Regions from separate parts of the Homo sapiens genome. Here region 1 is linked to region 2. The links are contacts of gene promoters, found by promoter capture Hi-C in human tissues and cell types (Jung and others, 2019). All regions are on one chromosome and are shown on one strand. The core of a region is centred on a gene start or on the middle of the fragment in contact, and the rest is flanking DNA. Distances in the headings are between cores, read along the strand shown. Region 1 has its middle 34 kb from the start of RGS13. Region 2 holds the start of RGS13 (regulator of G protein signaling 13).

What was found. The method cuts DNA at HindIII sites, captures the fragments that hold promoters and counts their contacts. A contact is called where the count stands out against the background at its distance.
Region 1: a contact is called between a fragment that was not itself captured here and the fragment with the promoter of RGS13 in region 2, in 1 of the 25 tissues and cell types used here (adrenal gland).

The regions. Positions count from the first base shown.
Region 1 is chr1:192,668,310-192,671,946 of GRCh38, forward strand. No RefSeq gene overlaps it. Among named protein-coding and RNA genes, the nearest start is that of RGS13, 34 kb to the left of the region's middle. RefSeq lists an enhancer at 1-449. The HindIII fragment of the contact is 3,894 bases long and covers 1-3,637 here.
Region 2 is chr1:192,633,808-192,637,396 of GRCh38, forward strand. RGS13 (regulator of G protein signaling 13) reads left to right here and starts at 2,340. Exons shown (of 7, transcript NM_002927.5): 1 at 2,340-2,510. It overlaps LOC107985241 (a long non-coding RNA gene), which reads left to right. Exons shown (of 2, transcript XR_001738348.2): 2 at 202-743. The HindIII fragment of the contact is 6,655 bases long and covers 739-3,589 here.

The DNA of each region.
Region 1 (3,637 bases), core at 510-3,009, 34 kb after region 2:
AGCTTCGTCCCAAAGGGGCACCTGCCTGTATGAGGTGTCTGTCAGCACCTACTGGGCGGTGTCTCCCAGTCAGGCTACACGGAGGGCAGGGACCAACTTGAGGAGGCAGTCTGTCCATTATCAGAGCTTGAACGCCATGCTGGGAGAGCCACTTCTCTCTTCAGAGCTGTCAGGCAGGATGTTTAAGTCTGCAGAAGCTGTCTACTGCCTTTTGTTCAGCTATGCCCTGCCCCCAGAGGTGGAATCTATAGAGGCAGTAAGCCTTGCTGAGCTGCACTGGGATCCACCCAGTTCAAGCTTCCCTGCTGCTTTGTTTACACTGTGAGCATATAACTGTCTACTCAAGCCTCAGCAATGGTGAATGCCCCACCCCTTGCCAAGCTCCAGAGTCCCAGGTTGATCTCAGACCGCTGCACTAGCAGCAAGCAAGGCTCCGTGAGCATGGGACCTGCCAAGCCAGGCACGGGAGGGTATCTCCTGGTCTGCCAGTTGCTAAGACCGTGGGAAAAGCACAGTATTTGGGAAGGAGTGTACCATTCCTCCAGTACAGTTACTCACAACTTCCCCTGGCTAGGAAAGGGAAATCCCCCAACCCCTTGCACTTCCCAGGTGAGGTGACAACCCACCCTGCTTCAGCTCACCCTCCATGGGCTGCACCCACTGTCCAGACAGTCCCAATGAGATGAACCAGGTACCTCAGTTGGAAATGCAGAAATCACCCATCTTCTGCGTCGATCTCACTGGGAGCTGTAGACCGGAGTGGTTCTGATTTGGCCGTCTTGGAAGCCGGGGCAATATTAATACTCTTTACAGTATTTAAACTTCACTGTATTTAAACTTTGTATTTGTATCTTTACTGTATTTAAACTTTAGTGATAATATGTATAAAGTGTTAGAACCTGTATGATTTATAATGGATGGGAGAAAATAGGGTATCATTAAGATTCTTGGAGCACTGAGTAATATTGTTCACTGCTGTGGAGGCCAGAAGGTAACAGAAGAATATAAATTTCTTAAGACTACAGCCATATCTTATTTTGCATCATATCCTCACTGCTAGGTAGAGGACATCGAAAGTATGACACTCAAAAAAATAGATAAATGAATGAGTGAATGAGTAAATAAATGAATCAGTCAATTCATCATCAGTGAGAAATGAATAAATCTGGTGTCAGATCTCCTTTACTCTGTAACTCAGCACTGCCAACTTTTAAAAAGCAATTCCTGGATTGCTCAAAAAATGTAAAATTTCAGGATAATACATGTATAAAAATAGAGCATTATGATCTGAATTTTAACAACTGAGCAAATCTTCTATCCAATGCATAGAAAGACTGGACAAACAAAAGATCAGTTCTACTAAATATTGTTGATATCAGAAAGAGTGTGACAATGCAAGCCAAATAGGGACAGGAAAATATATACGTTAGTGAGTATGGTTCGCTAGTTGAAGGGAGAGCAGGCTTTAAAGCAATGCTCGGTTATCTCATCAATAAAGCAGTGATAACTCTGGTTGTTTTCATTATTAACAAATATATTAAATTTTCCTTGATTTTTTTTAACAATTTCTAATTCCTTTTCCAACCAAAAAAGTTCTTGGTTTTCTTTTCCTAAGTCAGGAAGGTGAGTTGAATGAATATGTGAATAAATGTGCTTATCAAATTTTCTTTCAAAATAATTTCTAAAAGCTGAACTTCTAAATTTTAATTGACTTCCATTTAATATTTCTATCAATTGCAGAAAGACAGCTTTTCACATCATTATCATAGCAGATTCTTAGCACTTGTCAGAATATTTTAGAGGAAAAAACTCACATCCTTTTCATTTTCTTTATTCAGCACATAGCACAGGATAAATGTTCTGTACAAATGGATAAATATTCTATACTTTTGATGAAAAATAAAATACCTAAAATATTTAAGATTATTTTTCCAAAGAATTAAATATAGAAAATTTTTGTTGAAGGTATTTAGTTCTACTATGAAAAATGTTTCTTGGCTCTCAAATTCAACTGAAATGTCATTACTAATTTGAAATGGTTACAAACTACATGATATGAAAATGAGTATTAACTAGAATTCCTACTAAGAAGCAAAAGGATTATTATAGGCAAATTGTCCATATTGAAAGTAAACTACCATTATTATTGATCTAAATATGAGAAATTTTATTTGTGATATTCCACACAATAAATATTGGGGGATTCATTTCCAAGATAGAGAATCAGCTGTAAAAGAGAATATTTTCATTAAAAAGTATATGATTGATTAAGGTGAACTGTTGTTAGTTGTGGAAGGTGTTACCACAGTAGTCCAATTTTATCTAAGCCACTTGATTTTATTTATTTTCTCTTAAAAATACCAGTATAAAAATACAGGTTGAAGTCCTAGATATCTAAACTTGATGATTTCTAGCCACTATAGGCAGAAAAAAAAGTATTTCCACATTTCAGATTCTCCTCATCTCACTCCATCAGTGAATGAGTATCTATCTATCTATCTATACACACACACACACACACACACACACACACACACACATAAATATATGGGCAAGTAGGAAATGTTACACATATGGTTTGGCTCTGTGTCCCCACCCAAATCTCATCTTGAATTGTACTCCCATAATTCTCATATGTTGTGGGAGGTACCTGGTGGGAGATAAGTGAATCATGGGGGCGGGTTCCCCCATACTGTTCTCATGGTAGTGAGTAAGTCTCATGAGATCTGATGGTTTGATACAGGGAAACCTGTTTTGCTTGGCTCTCATTCTCTCTCTTGCTGCCACCATGTGAGACGTGCCTTTCACCTTCCACCATGATTGTAAGGCCTCCCCAGCCACGTGGAACTGTAAGTCCAATAAACCTATTTCTCTTGTAAATTGCCCAGTCTCAGATATGTCTTTATCAGCAGCATGAAAACTAACTAATACAACATGCATGGCCACAATACACATGCTTCAAGCACTTTCAGAACACCATGGGTCTTTCTCATTCAAATTATACAAAATCAGCCTAATACGGACATAACTAGTAAATGATATCAGAATAATTAGCATTCTTTACTACTTATTTTTCCCCTTGAATACATGGATATTTGTACTCCAAAACAGAGTAAGTCTAGAGTTTTCAGTTTTGCTTAATATTCTGATTTTACCTCCTAAATACAGGCTTTCTGTCCTGCTCCCTCAGCACCTCCACATCATGGTGAACAAAGAAGATGCCATGTGGTGTCATGAAACAAAAAGCTTTGGATTGAGGTACAAAGCAATTAGATTAGCATCTGTTCATTCACCTGATGTTCTTGTACCTTTAGGACCAGTAGGCTTCAGCTTCCTCATCTATAAAATAAAGTAGGATGAGATGATTGAGTAAGCCACGTGCTATCCCTGTTTTGTTACATCCCATTACTAACGTGTTCATCATTTTCTTTTCTGTAACTTGGACTCATTTTCAAGAGTAATTTCTCCAAAAATTGAAGTTTTCATGAGGAGTTTAATAATGATCTATTTATTATATTTTGCATTTACCCCTAATTATAAGAGTTCTTCTGAAGTATTTGACTTAGAAACAGAGAAGTTAAACTTAAATTGTATCTGCACGTAAGTGCTGTCTGTCCAAGAATACTGTATGGAAGTA
Region 2 (3,589 bases), core at 1,090-3,589:
GATTATAATTAAAGACATCTTTAAAGCAAATCATCTGAATAAATGCACACAGAATTGGTAACTAACTTTAATTGCTACTGAGGTTTATTTTATGCTAACAATAGTGTTCAATGCTCAGTAATCTCTTCCTAATTTTTGTTGTCGGTATATTTTGGGTTCACACAAGTCAGAAACCAAAGTTAGATTGTTTCTAATTGGCAGCAAACCAGAGGGGACGGGAGACTGGTCAAGTCTCTGAGTCGTCCACTCCAAGATGCGGACAATGAGTGTATGAAGACAGACTGAGAATGCGCTGCAAAGAAGCTTGGAAGAAAATGAAGGCAGAGAGGACAGACCTGAAAGGCTAAGAGGGACAGATCAGCGTCCATGGAAAGCAGGAGCAGAAGCCAGTCTTCTTCCAAACACTGGCACAAACCACTGCCTACTGGATACATTTCACCAGACAATTCACCCCAGTGTCCAAGAGTTTATCTTGCTTCTAGAATATATTGAAAAGAGCCACCCTCTGAACAAATGGCAAACACTATATAGTATAAATAGGATGCACTGAAAATAGTAGGCTTATTTCTTAAGCTGTCATCACGAACATTAACCAGTAATTATATTTCTCCACTTTTTGTAGAAGACATAAATGGCAAATTCTGAATTTATAATTTCTAATACTTCATTTTTCTGCTCTTGTAAAGTTCATTTTGAACTTTCAACATAAAAATATTAAAGATTTTTAATTGTGCACATTTGAACTTGTGTTACTTTGGACTTACATTGGCTGAAATTGAAATATAGTAAAAGTGCTCTAGAGTAAGCAGATCAGTTCATCAGAAGGACAGCCTTTCAATGGAAAGGGCATTCCCAAGCTGCACCAACGAAAGCATAATCCTGTTACCTGCCCTAACCTGACAGCTCTGAATTAGTCTGATCCACCTATGTGCCGTACAAAGCATTATATTGCTATGATTTCATAAACTGAACTTGAACTACACTTTTTCAGAGAAACAAAACCATGTTTAGAAATCTGCCACAAATATCTACACATTGCTCTTGAATTCCTCCAGGAATTTCCACCTACTCGTGCTGTTACTCTTCACTCTATGATTTATTTGTTTTTCAGTCCCTGTCGATACTTAAGTTTTACTCTGTAGGGAGATTCTCATGTTTGACTCCATTAAACAAGCTTTGAAACTGACACTCGCACAGGGTGTTACTTCCAGAATCTTCCTGCCAGCTCCTTGCATCCACACCATGAGAAAGAGCAAACATTCCAAATCCCAAAAAAATGAATTATTTGGGGTGAGGAAAAGTCTTGACTATGACACTGAAGATTTCCTGAAGAGATCCAGCATCCAAAATGTCCTGAGTGGGGAGGAAATCGCACACCTAGCACCCAGAGAAAATGAGTGCTATCCACAAACAACCCAGATCCTCCCAAGCTGAGGCTAACCTGCCCTTCACTTCCTACATTATTGCTACATCTACGCAGCTTCTGACTTTCCAAAGTTTCCTTTCCTTTTCTAGTCCCAAACTTATCTCTCAGGTTTGAGAAATTCAATTTTCTTGGGTTTGAATCTCAAAATTATAAAAGACAAGTAAGGTTAATCTTCTATCTCATTGGGCCCCTAAATATTTTAAGAAACACTCCATCAACCACATTTTGATCTTCTTTACTGCTGTTTTATTCTAGCATTTCTTTACTCCTACCTCTCTGTTTCTCTCTCTCTCTCTCCCCCCAAACCCCCCAACTCCCCCACCCCTCCCCACACACACACACAATTGGAGTAAATCCAGGACAAGGGCATTCACAATCTTACCATATTCTGTATTCATTAGACCTTATCTTAAGCACTGTGTTCAATTCAGATTTTGAAGGCATGTTAACAAACTGTAGAACAACGGAGTCCAGAACTGCTGTAGAGGACCAGTTGAAGGAACTAGAGAGGTATAACTAGAAAAGATACTTTTTTAGATCCTTCAGTTGTTAAAAGTCCCTAGTAATCTATTACAAACAGATTGATTTTAATAGTTCTCAACCATTTGCTAACATGTGTTTGCAGTGATGTCCTATGTGTTTGTACTCAGTTCTCTGTCTTTTTTAAAAGGGAATTTTACTTTAGACTATACATTTTCTAAAACTAGAAAAATTATTTTGGAGAAAAAGATTTGAGTATTACTTTGAAGATTTCATGAAGCTGCTGCTTCCAATCATCTGATCACTTCAGATGGTCTGATAATGTTAGATAAAACCTCTTTATCAGTAATGCACTGGAGTCCTACAGCACTACTTTCCATATTCAACAAAACCTCTCTTTGCATAGATACGTGTGTGTAAAAACAGAACATTCATACTGAGGCCAGAGTGCCATCGAAGGTAATTATAGAGACAGTAAAATCCTTTTACTCTGGGAAAAATAAAATGCTGGGTGTCTCACAAAATTTCAGAACCTGATTTCAAACGGATCATAACAAAGAGGAGATCAAATTTAGCATGGTGGACTGCTCGACAGGATATATTTGTAAGTATGAGATTCTATAAAATAGTTGATAAATACAAGACTATTGGCTTGCTATAAATCACTAGCAGATGCTGATTTCAATGGTAGAACTTCTGGGAGTGTTAACAGAGGTTTTTCTAAGAAAAAAAGACAAACTAACAAACACATATTCTTTTGCCTGGCTTTCTATATTTAAAACAAAACTTAGAGTCACTCCTTATATAAATAAATCTTCTAAGTTGGGCAACAGAGGAAATGCTACAGTTTTAAAGTATATTATTTCATTTTATGTTTTTGTGTATATTTTCATTTTAAATGTTTTTCATTTTATATGTTTAGATAAAAACATATTATAAAATCAGACATAGCTGAATTATTTGTTTCAAAAATCATGCATTACCAAATTATTAGTTCCATCCTTTGTTAACTGTACTGAAGCCAGGTGTGGATTATTATAAGGTTTATCTGAAACATTGTTAATCTTGATTTTGTAGAATTTTTTTATTCTTTTATGTTATGCTTAAGCACAACTATGCACAAATTTCTTGAATTTTTTAAAGGACAAGAAATTTGTGTGCTGTGGTCAACAAAAGCTCACTAAAATATAAATTGCTCCAAATTTTACTAAATTTTATGTAACATGCTATATCATAAAATAAAGAAACATATTTAAATGCAGATATATGTAAACAGACAGAATTGCTTTAAGAAAATTTATTTATTTTCATAATACTTTAAGATTTCATTTAAATAATGGAGGAAACAAATCTAATTCTGGCATACTACTAATACAACTCAATCCATTACCAATGCATTTATAATCACTCTGAGAATTAGATTCTATCGGTGAAATGTATTTCTTTCAAATAATTATCAGGAGAAAACAGTGGAGGCAAAATCATCGTGGAGACCTAAACTTGTTCTAAACACTCTATGTTTCGATTGTAAAAGTACACACTAGTTTTACCAAGAGGGTATTGAAAAACAAAAAAGGAAAGCAAATTAATACACAATATTAAGATAAATATAGATTATTTAAATAAAAAGTAATGGAAAATTACAAATTAAAACAGTAAAGAAATTTTTATAATAAGCCATGA